2 separate regions of the Homo sapiens genome follow, and region 2 is linked to region 1. The links are contacts of gene promoters, found by promoter capture Hi-C in human tissues and cell types (Jung and others, 2019). All regions are on one chromosome and are shown on one strand. The core of a region is centred on a gene start or on the middle of the fragment in contact, and the rest is flanking DNA. Distances in the headings are between cores, read along the strand shown. Region 1 holds the start of PNOC (prepronociceptin). Region 2 has its middle 64 kb from the start of PNOC.

The links. Contacts are between HindIII fragments. The study calls those that stand out against the background at their distance.
Region 2: a contact is called between a fragment that was not itself captured here and the fragment with the promoter of PNOC in region 1, in 1 of the 25 tissues and cell types used here (pancreas).

The regions. Positions count from the first base shown.
Region 1 is chr8:28,315,497-28,322,331 of GRCh38, forward strand. PNOC (prepronociceptin) reads left to right here and starts at 1,772. Exons shown (of 4, transcript NM_006228.5): 1 at 1,772-1,820. RefSeq lists enhancers at 2,765-3,277, 3,278-3,789. The HindIII fragment of the contact is 3,220 bases long and covers 378-3,597 here.
Region 2 is chr8:28,249,267-28,256,586 of GRCh38, forward strand. No RefSeq gene overlaps it. Among named protein-coding and RNA genes, the nearest start is that of PNOC, 64 kb to the right of the region's middle. The HindIII fragment of the contact is 7,520 bases long and covers 1,427-7,320 here.

The DNA.
Region 1 (6,835 bases), core at 522-3,021:
ATTGATGCCTGGAATAAAATCAAGGGTACCGTTTAGTAAGGAAGAACAGGGAAATGGGGATTGGGTAGGCAGCCTGCAATATCTGCCACATCATGTATGAAATCAGGTTCCAGGCCTGAGACACTGAAGTACATCAGGATGCAAAAGTGACCCCGTGTCAGTCAGTGAACATGCTGGTTTCCCAAAGAGTCCAAAATGGTAGCTGCGACCTGCAGTGTAAGGTTTGGGCAACAGAGATCTAAGTGAAGAATCATGAGTATGCTGGTCTCCTGAGCCCTTTTGCTGTGAACACAGACGGAAGGGAAATTTTATTCTCAGAACCTGTTGCTCTTAACCTGAGCAGATGTTTGCTGTCTTTTTCCTATTTTCTTTTTATGGAGATGTAATTCCCATAACATAAAATGCACCATTTTAAAGCATACAATTTGGTGGGTTTTAGTATTCTTGCTATGTTGTGCAACCATCACCTCAGTCTAAATCCAGAACATTTCCATTACCCCAAAAAGAAACCCTATACCATTTGCAGTCAGGGCAGATGCTTCCCTCAATCCTTCTCCACCCAGTCCTGGGTAGACCAGAGAGCTGGACTTAACCACATGAATGAGTGCTTGAGCTCCTTGGATGACATAGGTTCAAACCCTGGGATTCTGGAATATTTTAGACCCTCTTAGGAAAACCAAGGACAGGGTCATGGTGAAATTCACCTAAGGTAAGGAAACGTGGGGTCCACAAGGATGCTAAACCCTCAAGCCTGTGCCTTCAGCCTGTGAGCTCCTTTCCTGCAGCCCACAACCCCCGGCGGCTGTAGAAGACAAAGAGGCTCTGCAGTAAGGGACAGGGAAGCTTCCAGAGCTTCTGAGCCTCCAGGGCCCTCGGTAGTGATGCCCTAAGTTGCAGAAGCTTTAAAAGCTCTCTGTTGTGACACCAGACACTGATATGGGATTTCTACATCCAGGTGGTACTAATCAGTGTGAAAAGCGGGCTGAGAGGAGAGGGAGGATGCAGCACATTCATTAAGGGCCTCGTGTGTTGTAGATTCAAACAGAATCTCCTTTTTCTACTCACAACCATCCTGGGCAGTATTAGACTCATTTTCCGGAAGGAGGACTTGAGGTTCACAAAGAGATGTGCCTTGCTCTGACTGTACAGCCGAATTTCAGACACTTCCATCTGAGCCTCGAGTCTCAGCATTCTCCATTGCACCATGCTGTGGGCACCTGTGGAAATGCCTCCTGACCTGGCCCAGGGCAGGTGCAGCCACCTCTTGAGTGGCCTAGTTAGGGGCAATGACATTAGGTCAGGGCTTGGCTTAGCTCAGCCCTGGGCTCCTCCGAGTCGGTAGGAGCTTGGCATGAGCTCCCCTCCCTTCTGCCTGCCTCCTATTCTTCACTCCTCAGGCAAAAAGGTTGCTCAAGGAGACTCCAGGATTTGGGGTCTGCCTCGTCACTGTCACCAGGAGGCTTTTTTTCTGACTTGCCAGAGCTCCCCATCAGTCCTCACAGAGCCTCTGGAAGCACAGGGAAGGCAGCTGTGGGATCCTGGCTGAACAGAGTCCAGGTGAAGCAGGCTTGAGAATGGATTGATGGGGAGGTGGGGATGTCACAGGTCTGATGGCAGAGCCGGGGGAAGGGAACAGCCAGGAAGGCTTGCAGGTTCTGCTGTTTGGTTGCTGAAGGGGGTCAGTGTGTGTATGTGTCATGGAGGTGGGCAGGGAAGGGGAGGGCTGTGCGTGGGGGAGAGGATATATATGCTGGTGTGGCTGAGAAAGCGGAACCGAGCCTCGCATCCATCGGAGGGAGCCGGGGACTGACAGCTCTCAGGTAGGCAACTGCACGGGGCCCCCAGCCCGACCGCGACTAACTGGACTAACTGCGTGGAGCTCCGGGAGGGCAGGGCCACCAGGGGCTGGCTCCTCGGCCTCTCTCCTTTGTCCAGTGTGGATGCTGCTGGCCTCTTGCGAGATGGTTTCTTCATTCATCTCCTTTGTAGCGCTTGGATGGTGGGGAACGGGGGAGGGCTGAGTCTCTTTTTTAACCTCAGACAGACGCAGAAGCAGAAAGAGGGGAACTTGGAAATGAGGAAAAGTTTTGCTTCCCCAGCTGTGGCCCCTACGTGGTTGTTGCTCTGTGTCGAGAGGAGGCTGCTGGAGGAGTGAGGCCAGAGGAGGGGCAGGCACTTGGGAGGGGGTTTGCCTTCCACGGGGCGGCCCCCAGGAAGACCCTGGCCCCCTCATGAGGGTTTCCTCTCAGTGGCTTCCTTTCCTCTCAGATGCGGTGCGCAGGCTGCTTCTCCGCCTATCACTGAACTTGATGCCATCCAGATGGGAGTTTTTAATCCGGAGGGAGCCCTTCTCCCTTCTGCCCCCAGCAGAAATTGCTACAAATAATGGGGAAGCGCCAGATCTGGGGAGTGTGCTTCACCTGTATACACACACTGCTGAGCGCCACGGCGTGTGAATTCCAGAGAGCATTTCTACGGGCGTGACCTTGGTCTCCCAGAACCCGATTCATTTAGAGGGCTCTTCTCTTGCTTGGCATCCCTCTCCCCCTGCCCATCTCCCCCACCTAAAGGTCTTTGCCCAGGTCATGCAGAATACTCCGTTCATAGTCACCGCATCCCAACTCTCGAGGCTCTCTCAGCCACCTTCTTTCTTCCTCCTCTCTTTGTGCATCTCTCTCCCTCGAGTCTTGCTTCCCCGGCTTCACTACCCAGCCCCTCCTCCCCGAATCTCGCTCTGAACATGGGCAAGTTCTGGGGGAATTTCAAGTAAGGCAGGATGATTCGGGAAATGGACTATTTAAAGCAAGCTGCTTTGGACTTGAATACCCCCATCCTGCGCTTAAACATCTGTGTTTAGCTTCCTCAAGCAGCCCATAATTGCCCCAATTATAACCAATAACATTGTTCGGCAGACTAACAAAAGATGAGCTTTGCACGGCATTCGCCAGCAAGCCCAAACCAGAGTTTTCAACATAGATGGGAAAAGTAACTGCCTGGCTTCTTATCAAAACCTCCCAAAGCAAATACTGCTCTTTTTCGCTGCTTGTGGGTGGCTACTGCATGCAGCCTCTTTTTTTCTCATTTGTAAAGTGTGGCAGGGAAATATTCTACAAGCTTACACTGAGGCTATGTTACCTTTAACAAAAAGGATTCGTGCTCCTTTGGGCTTGCTGAGTCTTCTGCAGAGGAGGGTCCCTGGAAAACCCATCCCCAACCATCACCACCTCTGTAAAAGCATGTGCCGCCTGGTGCTGCCTGGCGAGGGCGCTGTGGTACAGCCTCGGGTCATTTTGAGGGCGCAGTTTTGTTGCGCACAGGGCAGCAGCCCCTGCTTTATCAGCTGAAGGCTGAGAGTACTTACGGATTTGTAAAATGCAGGCGAGTTTGCATTGTCAGTGAAGGGAGTGATTGCAGGATTAGGCTCAAACCTGTGCTCCCTGGAGCCTATGACAAGAGCTGTCACTAAGCTATCCTGTATTCAATCAATCAGGTAGTTACCGTCTACACTCCACCAGGCAGGGAGGCTTGCAGGGGCTCTAGTAGATTCAGCAGAGGTGATAATAACAGCACTTTACATTTGTACAACGATTTAGGCGCTTTCACACCTATTATCCCAGCAACAGCCCTGTGAGGTGGTGCCATTATCTCGGTGTTGCAGTTGGAGAAACTGAAACTGAGAGATTAAATGATTTATTCAGTACATGGCAGGGTCAGGACTGAGCCAAGGCATTGTGGCTCCAGTTCATCTCCCCGTTACGGTCAGGGGTGCTTATGAACTCATAGTGGGGTCGGGGGTAGAGGAGAGACGTAACACAAACATGAGAAACAATTAGAGGACCATGCAAGGCAGGGTGTAATTCAGTCCTAAATCACATAATCCAGAGAGCAAGTGCTAGAAGAATTCGGGAGAAGGAGCATTTCCTCCAGGCATTCCTGGGATCCTACCAAGTGAGAAGGCAGGTGGAATTTGGATGGGTGAAGGGCTTTGAAGAGGGAGGCAGCAGCCAGGTCAAACACATAAAATGAGGGCAAAGGAATTAACATTTCTTGAAACCCACTCTGTGCCAGGCAGTGAGCTAAGCTTGTCTACGTGCTTATTTCATGCTAATACACACATGCACATATGCACACTGGTAGGAATGGGAAGTTTCAGGTGAGCGTTCTCTACTTGCACTGACACGGTTCAGTGATCCCTCATTTCTCCATCCAGCTCCACAGCTCCCAAAGCCCACGAAGGAAGCTTTGAAATATCTTGCATTCCGAGTCTGGGTGGAGCTACTCCTCAGATATCTTAGGAAAGGGACGGGCCCTTCTCAGAAAACGGGAGCCGTCCTGACAATGAGTGGCTGGCAGTGGCTTGAATTGCTGGGCAGTCATGAAGCAAACTGGATTTTCTAAACGCCTTTATTTAAATCCCACAGTCGAACATAAAGTTTTCCATCTAATCACAAACTAGTCATGAGATTTGGAGCACATCGATTTCAGGGGCAAGCCAGTTTTCTGGGCATCTCCCTGGATAGGCTACAATTAGTTTCAGTCTCAATTTTCCACGATCCTGTGGGGTTTTTTTTGTTTGTTTCTTTCTTTCTTTCTTTCTTTTTTTTTTTTTTTTTTTTTTTTTTTTTCAAAATACTGGCAGCTGCTTCAACATTGCAGAAGCACAAAATCATCAGCCCGGGGGCCCAGCCTGGCAGGTGGAGTAGATAGCATGCCTCACCATGCACCCCAGCTCTGCCATCCCACAGTGGCTCAGATCCAACCTCCCCTCTTTCCACACTGGCCTGCAATCTTCCCCCCACCCTCCTTCCCCATTCATCCTTTCATTCATTCGGCCAAGGAACGTGTGTGGGGTTCCTGATAGGAGCCACACAGAGCAAGTGCCAGGAGCACAGGGTGGCCAGAGCGCTGGCTTCCTCCAAACTCACAATGGGCTTCAGGAGACTGAGACTTTTGTTTTTATCTTACCTTTCTTAATTTGCATTTTAGTGGATTTTATAATGTATGTAACTTATAAATAAATTAGGAATGTGTACTCAAAATCGACTGCTAGGGGTACAAAGTTAAAGAAGTTTGGCCGGGCGCAGTGGCTCATGCCTGTAATCCCAGCACTTTGGGAGGCCGAGGTGGGCAGATCACAAGGTCAGGAGATCAAGACCATCCCGGCTAACACGGTGAAACCCCGTCTCTACTAAAAATACAAAAAAATTCTCTGGGCGTGGCGGTGGGCGCCTGTAGTCCCAGCTACTCGGGAGGCTGAGGCAGGAGAATGGCGTGAACTCGGGAGGTGGAGGTTGCGGTGAGCCGAGATCACACCACTGCACTCCTGCCTGGGTGACAGAGCGAGACTCCATCTCAAAAAAAAAAAAAAAAAAGAAGAAGAAGTTTGAAGATTGTTGTCCTAGATTCATTGCTGTTTCTCTGTGTTTTCCAATATTTTAGAAAAGAACACCGAATGATTTTATTACATAAAAGTAAATAAAAGCTTTTCTTTCTTTCTTTTTGAGTTGGAGGTCTTGCTATATTGCCCAGGCAGGTCTTTTGTTGTTGTTGTTGTTGTTTACAGACAGGGTCTCACTCTGTCACCCACACTGGAGTGCAGTGGCACAATCATAGCTCACTGCAGACTCAACCTCCTGGGCCCAAGCTATCCTCCTGCCTCAACCTTCTGAATAGCTAAGACTGCAGATGTGCACCACCACACCTAGCTAAATTTTTTTTTTTTTTTTTTTTTGTAGAGATAGGTGTCTTACTATGTTCCCCAAGCTGGTCTCAAACTCCTGGGCTCAAGCGTCCTAAGTTGCTGGGATTGCAGTTGCATGCCAATACACCCAGCTAAAAGTAAATAAAAGCTTTCCAAAATCTATTTAAATTATGTTGCCAGTATATGTGGGAGTGTGGCCCAGAACCAGGAAGATGGGAGTTGAGAGCTACCTTCCCACCTGCAGTAGCCCTGAACGTGTGTCTTTTGCCCCCTCCACACTCTTTCTATGGCTTTCCTCATGCTGCCCGGAAGCTACTTCCCCATAAAGCCTTCATCTCCTTTTCCTCTTCCCTTCTTCCTTCCATCCTTACTTCCAGGAAAGGACAAATATCTGGCCATTCATAAAATCAGAGAATATCAACCATCTCATCTAACTGCCTCTTCTTATAGAGGGAAAAGCTGAGGCCCAGAGAGAAAAGGTCTTGCTTAAAATCCCACAGGTAACGACAGAGCCAGACTAGAAGCCAGGACTCTTGTTTCTGAGCACAGCTCTCACGCGTTCATTTCTCTCCAGCCTGGGGAATGCTTGACCTGTGCTGGGCTGGGCAATTGTTCTTTCCTCCACCTCCTCTATGCCGTCCCCCTCTTTCCAGGTGGAAATTTAGATGAGAGGAGAGACACTTGAAGTGTAATTGTATCAGCCAGAAGAGGAAAAGAAACTAAAGCAGCCTCTCTCCATAATAGCTGGTAAACAAGCATAAGCTCCATTGTAGGAGTCTTATCTGCAATGGGTCTAAGAAATGGGGCATCGGGAAGACCCACCTATCTTCTGATGGACATGCAGCTGGTGCATAATGAAGGATCCCTGTGTGGACTGGAGAGAAGCCACCATAAAGAGGTTGTCATCAGCCCCGGCACAGTGGCTCATGCCTGTAATCCCAGCACCTTAGGGAGGCTGAGGCGGGAGGATCATTCGAGGTCAGGAGTTTGAGACCAGACTGACCAACGTGGTGAAACCCCGTCTCTACTAAAAATACAAAAAAAATTAGCCAGGCATGGTGGCGGGCACCTGTAATCCCAGCTACTCAGGAGGCTGAGGCGGGAGAATCATTTGAACCCAGGAGGCAGAGTTTG
Region 2 (7,320 bases), core at 3,937-6,436, 63 kb before region 1:
CCAAAGCAAATGTGTAGGATCCAGCACATGGACTTCAGTCTGCTTGATTTCAAAGCATGAAATCGTTGGCTGTTTTCCCCAGAGGTTACCTGCTCAATACAGCTTTCAAGCTGAATGCCATCTTCCATTCCCTTGCATGAAGGCCTGCATACCATAAGGAAGTCCAAATAGCTCAGCTGCCACTTCCTTCCCTTGTCTTTCCATCCTAAAGGAATCTGCAGCCCCACATTGGCTGGGGTCTTTGCACCTCTCTGAACCAACCAGAAGGAGTGCACATAAGCGCCCAAGAAGAGAGCAGAGGGAGATAAGTAAAAGTGATGTGCTTGTATTAGAAGCCACAGACAAATCTGCGATAACATTTAGAAGTCAGTTTTAATTCTGAGAATGTGGAAGTCAAAGCCCATCTGATGTCAGGTTGAATGAATAGATTAAAAATTCAATCAGAAACAGCAGAGACTTGTCAAGGATTTCAAAAGCCCCTCCAATCCCTTCTGTGTGGGCAACAAAGTGTGCCTAGCAAAAATGCAAATCAGATTGTTATCACTCCCCTGTGTAAAACCCTTTTATACCCATTCACAATAAATCTCAGACTGCTCACCATGGCTTCAGGGCCTCAAGCCTCTTTTTTTCCCCAGCTCGCTGCTTTCCAGACCCACCAGCCTTTCAGCTCCCACACACACCACGCTTCCTGTGCCTCTGAACAGCCGTGCAGGCGGTTCTCGCTGCCTGCGGCCTGCTTCCACCAGCTGGTAACTTTTGCTTGCCTCTCCAATGAGAGAGGCCTCACTCAACCATCCCATCTTAGTCATGTTTTCCTGAAAAAGTCTCACATTGATGCTTTTGTTAACTCCTTCAGTGCACTAAAGACAGTCTGTTGAGTTTGTTTATGCAAAGTCCGGTCTCCCCAACTAAAATGTCAGCTTGCAGAGAGCAGAAGAGGTCGGGCCTGTGTAGCTCGCTGATGAATTCCTGTTGACAGACACTTACCCATGAGCTGCTCAAGTCCTGCACATCTTGAGAAAGAGCCCTTACTTCCGGGGTATCTTTTCAAGGATGTCTGTACGGTGAAAACCTGTGGTAGACAGAGTATCTCCTTCCAGAGCAAGTCAGGTGCGCATGCTGTGCAGTATCATGAAGACCATGTCTCCTTCTGGAATGGACAGGCAGGCTTGCTGCCTGTGATTTATGAAGCTTAAAATAGCAAATATAAATATCAACCAAGCAAAATGGTATTTACGATACATGTACATAGGGAGTAACAAACACAAAATTCACAATGACGTCTGCCTCTTGCAGGGAGGCCAGGGGGTGGAATCTGTGAGAAGTTGCTGGAAGTTTCCATGCCATTGGGTGTGCTTCTGCCAGCTGATACCCTTGGACTCTCAAGTGAGAGACACCACAGTTGACCATCTTACGTTGGTAGCATCTTCCTGGGTTAGTCCCACCTCGAAACCTGTATATGCATAAAAGACAATCTACTATATGTACCATGTATTATGTAATATATACATAGTATATATAATACAGGAATATGGTAACATAGTAATATATATTATCTATTTATCCATTGTAGATAATACATACATATTGTGTATCATCTATATTATTAATACATATCACATATGTTTATACACATATAATATAGAGCAGTGGTCCCCAAGCTTTTTGGCACTAGTGACCAGTTTCATGGAAGACAATTTTTCTCGTCTTTTCTTTTCTTTTTGAGATGGAGTTTTGCTCCTGTTGCCAAGGCTGGAATGCAGTGGCACAATCTCGGCTCACTGCAACCTCTGCCTCCCGAGTTCAAGTGATTTTCCTGCCTCAGCCTCCTGAGTAGCTGAGATTACAGGCACCCACCACCATGCCTGGCTAATGTTTTGCACTTTTAGTAGAGGCAGGGTTTCACCATGTTGGCCAGGCTGGTCTCGAGCTCCTGACCTCAGGTGATCCGCCTGCTCCATCTCCCAAAGTGCTGGGATTACAGGCGTGAGCCACCATGCCCGGCAGAAAGACGATTTTTCTATGGACAGGGGAGTGTGATGGTTTCCAGATGATTCAAGCACATTACATTTATTATGCATTTTATTTCTATTCTTATTACATTGTGATATATAATGAAATAATTATACAACTCACCATAATATAGAATCAGTGGGAGCCCTGAGCTTGTTTTTCTGCAGCTAGACGGTCCCATCTGGGAGTGATGAGAGACAGTGACAGATCATCAGGCATTAGTTAGATTCTCAGAAGGAGTATGCAAGCTAGATCCCTTGCATGCACAGTTCACAATAGGGTTTGTGCTTATTGAGAATCTAACGCCACCGCTGATCTGACAGGAGGCAGAGCTTGGGCAATAATGCAAGCGATGGGGAGTGGCTGTAAATACTGATGAAGCTTTGCTCACACACTTGCTGCTCACCTTTTGCTGTGTGGCCTGGTAACTAACAGGCCACAGACCAATACCCATCTGTGGCCCAGGGCTGGGGACCCCTAATACGGAGTACATAATATGTAGCAATGTCCTAGTTGTTAAGTTGGGTGGTAGACTCACAAGTGTTTGTTTTATTATGTGTCATAGCCAATATGTAGTTAAAAATATCATTTCGTATTATCTAATATTCCATCTGATAGTTTCAATAGTAACAGTGGCCATTTCAAGGTAGTAAGATTTAGGCATGATTCCCTTCTCCCATATAAGCTTCTTAATTTTCTAAGTTCTTTTCAAACAATAACAGATTGTTTCTAGAATCAGAAAACATAAACTTTGTAAAATATATGAGAAAAATGTATACTGGCAAATTACAAATGGAAACGTGAAGATCTTTCCCATTTAAGGAGAAGAAGAGTCATGGATGATTTTCTGCTGATATGTTTAGAGACCTGGAGATCCTCTGTAGTTTTGGCTTTCAAATCTCTCCTCCTACTGTGTTTCTTGTACTTGGAGCACTTTTCTCATTTCCAGTCTCAGACTGGAAAGAAGTTAGTGTTGAACCACGCCCCAGTGGATACCTAAATTCTCTGGGAAATTGAATTTTTCCCTAGATAGAGAGAGGTGGTCCACGGAGATTGATAATGCAAGGCCCCAACCCTGTGCCCTGTCCCATCCACAGGGGACTCAGGCTGGCTGTGGCACAGGCATGGAGCAGAGAGAGGCTGGCTGTCTTAGGGCAGGGAGACTTTCCCAGAAAGGGCAAGGCCAGGGACCAAAAAGAACCCCGGGAATGTCACTGGGATGTTTGGTGGATTAGAAATCATGGCCACAACATTCTCAAGCATCTCCTGCCAAGAGGAGGTATCTAGTTCTCTGCCTCTTTAATCTGGGCGGGTCTTGATACTCGCTGTGGTCTCCTGAATGTGGTACAATCAGCATTGTGTGTGTTCCAGAACTAAGAGGCCTGCAGCTTCCATTTCCTCTTCCTTTTTTACCCAACTACCACGTAAAGAGGTCCAGGCTCTCCTGCTGGAGGGCGGAGCCACATGGAGAGTGAGACCTGAAGGATGAGAGACCATGGGGAGGAAGATGCCACAGGAAAGAGACCCATGACACCGCAGCAGACAGCCAGCACCAAGACTCCATCTATGTGAGGGAGGTCATATTAGGTCCTCCAGCCAGCTGATCCTGCTGATAACACTTGGAGCAGAGAGCTGAACCCACTGAGCCCTGCCCAAATGCCTGACCCATAGAGTCATAAGCCATCAAATAGTTCTGATTAGCTAGAGTTCCGGGTGCTTTGGACCCAGCAACAGATAACTGATACAGGGTGATAGAACAAGGAAATAAAAATACATCTCAATTAATTGAAAAGTTTGCAGGACACACTATTAAAAATTAGACAGGAAGTCAGACTACAATTGGGCCATCTGACTCTGCAACTCATCCAAGAAAAAGCAAAATCCGGCCGGGCGTGGTGGCTCACGCCTGTAATCCCAGCACTTTGGGAGGCCAAGGCAGGCAGATCACGAGGTCAAGAGATCGAGACCATCCTGGCCAACATGAAACCCCGTCTCTACTAAAAATACAAAAAAATTAGTTGGGCATGGTGGCGGGCACCTGTAATCCCAGCTACTCAGGAGGCTGAGGCAGAATTGCTTGAACCCAGGAGGCAGAGGTTGCAGTGAACCGAGATCACACCACTGCACTCCAGCCTGGTGACAGTGTGAGACTCCATCTCAAAAAAAAAAAAAAAAAGCAAAATCCAACAGCAAATTCTTGAAGGAATTTCTGGAAATTCTTGAAGGAAGAAAGAGCGGCTTATGAATTTTACAAGTTGTGTCACACAAAAGGCTTTCTAGAATCCTCTTTGGACTCTCTCTTTATCAATTACTTTTCAGTAACAGCAACTTCCGAAAGTCAGTCTCTCCCCTTCTCCGTCTTCACACATATGCACACATGCACGAGCACGCAGGCACACACATGTGCACATGTACACACATTGTATTAGGCTGTTCTTGCATTGCTATACAGAAATACCGGAGCCTGGGTAATTTATAAAGAAAAGAGGTTAAATTGGCTCGTGGTTCTGCAGGTTGTACAGCAAGCATGGTACAGGCATCTGCTTAGCTTTTGGGGAGGCCTCAGAGAGCTTTTACTCATGGTGGAAGGTGAAACGGGAGCAGGCACTTCACATGACCGGACCAAGAGCAAGAGGTTGGGCAGGGGGCATGCCACACACTTTTAAACAACCAGATCTCATGACAACTCACTATCACAAAGGCGGCACCAAGGAGATAGTGCTAAGACATTCCTGAGAAATCCACCCCCATGATCCAATCACCTCCCACCAGGCCCCACCTCCAACACTGGAGATTACATTTCAACATGAGATTTGCGGGAACCATATCCAAACCATATCACGCGTATACAAATGCACTTGCACACACACACACAGACATGCATATACACATGTTCACACATATACAAATGCACACATACACACATGCATGCACGTACACTCACATACATGCATCCACATGCATGCACGTACACTCATGTACATGCATCCACACGCACGCGTACACTCATGTACATGCATCCACACACATACATGCATCCACACGTACACATGTGCCTATGCACATAAACATGCATGCATGCACACACACGATTCCCTACCTCCCTGCCACGTTGCTCTACCAGCACTTCCTCTTCCATCACCGGCTATCATCTCTGTCATCTGTGTCGCAGTGAGTCTCCTTACTTTGTAAAGCCCCCTCTTCTTCTCCAAGTCCTCTTCTTTTGTGGAGAGCAGCTACTTGGAATTCTGATGAATCAATTCTCCATTTATTACATACTCAAGCCACAATAGCCACCCTTGCCAAGTTCCATGTATTTTACCTCTTCATTGTTTTTCCCTGCAGATTCTACGGTCCAACACCAAGGAGCCCTTTCCGTTCCAGCTCAAATCCCACAATCTCAAAACATTTTTTTCATGCTTCTCACTCCCACTCTCCATATCAACAGCCCATGGAATGAGCTTCTGTCTTTGCTAACCTTGGGGTTATCCTCCTATCTTGTTCTACACAGGTCTGCTTCTCTTGCTAGTTTATAACCTGCTTGCATCAAGTGCTGTGTCTTATTAATCTTTGTAACCACCACAGGCTCTAGCTCAGCACCACACACGTGGCAGGCATTCAATGATATTTGTCAAGTTGAGTGTAATTTAAATGAGGTCATTCATTCAGGTCTGTGCCAGGAAAAAAAAAAAAAGTCACCTTTTCTGAGATAAGCTGGGGTCACTTGCATACCAAGTCAGTCCAAACTGAAAGTAACATCAAATGACAAATAATCGTCTATTTCAAAACTAGAAAAGTAATGGATTTTGTTTGGAAAATAAGCATAGGAAGGACGTTTTTCCTTCTACTCTTCCGTGTTTTCCTGTATTTTGTAAATAAATGTGTGCTCATTTTACAATAAAAATAAATTTTCACATGAGTAACTCAGAAAACAGAAATCATATTATCATTTATGACATTATGTCCACTGGATACTTTCTTTCAAAGTGCTATGAAGGCAAATATACTTGTTTCTTCAGCCTGAAAGAATCATTTACCAGTTTCCCGATGCTATCAGCTAAGTATTCCACCAAAGAGGGAAAAATGACGCTTGGTCCAGCTCTGTGATAGATGGAAGTTAAACATCTGAAAGTTCATCAACCCACACGCCCAGCTGGCCAGCTTCCTTGTCTCCAGCTGATCCTTGGAATTTAATCTCAGTCCCAAATTTATAGATGAAATTCTCCCATCACATCCCATCTAGTTGAATTGTTAAAATGACTCTAATTTTGTTCTCTTTGACAGAGTCTTGCTCTGTCGCCCAGGCTGGAGTGCAGTGACACAATCATAGCTCATTGCAGCCTCGAACGCCTGGGCTCAAGCAATCTTCCTGCCTCAGCTCCTCAAGTAGCTGGGACCACAGGTGTGTGCCACCACACCCTGCTTTTTTTTTTTTTTTTTTTTTTTTTTGTATTTTTTGTATAGATGGAGTCTCGCCATGCTGCCCAGGCTGGTCTCAAACTCCTGGGCTCAAGCGATCCAGCTAAAATTGCTCTAATTTCATTATTTGAAATCTTTTCAAAGTTAAACTTCCAGAAACACCTCTATTCTTATTTTGGGAGACTATGTCTTGACCTTTCCTTAAGAGAGTTTAAGGTTGTCTTTAAGTTAAAATAAGATCATAACTCCTCAACCGAACATACAAATCATTCCCTTGGTCTAGTCTGCACTTTCAGCTTCTTCTCTGGGTGTTCCCTGGAAACCTGTTTCTCAGAGCTGTCGGTAGAGCACCTGCATCAGAATCACCTGAGGGCCGGGCGCAGTCGCTCACACCTGTAATCCCAGCACTTTGGGAGGCCAAGACAGGAAGACTTCTTGAGCCCAGGAGTTCATAAGCCAGCCTGGGCAACATGGCAAAACCCCATCTCTACCAAAAATACAAAAATTCGCCAGGCATGATGGTGTGAGCCTGTAGTCCCAGCTACCCAGGGGGCTAAGGCGGGAGGATCAACTGATCCCAGAAGGTCGAGGCTTCAGTGAGTCGTGTTCATGCCACTGCACTCCAGCCTGGGCAACAGAATGAGGGCCTGCCTCAGAAAAAAAAGGGGTTTGGGAGAAAGAGGAGAGGGGAGAGGGGAGAGGGGAGAGAGGAGGGAAAAGGAAGAAAGGAAGGAGGGAAGGAAGGAAGGAAGGGAAGAAGGGACGGGAGAAAGAGAAAGGAAATCACCCTGTGTACTGATTTAAGTGTAGACTCCCGAACCCACACACAGATCCAGACAGAATTGAAAACACATTCACCAGGTGATGTTCAGGTTCACAAAAGCCTGA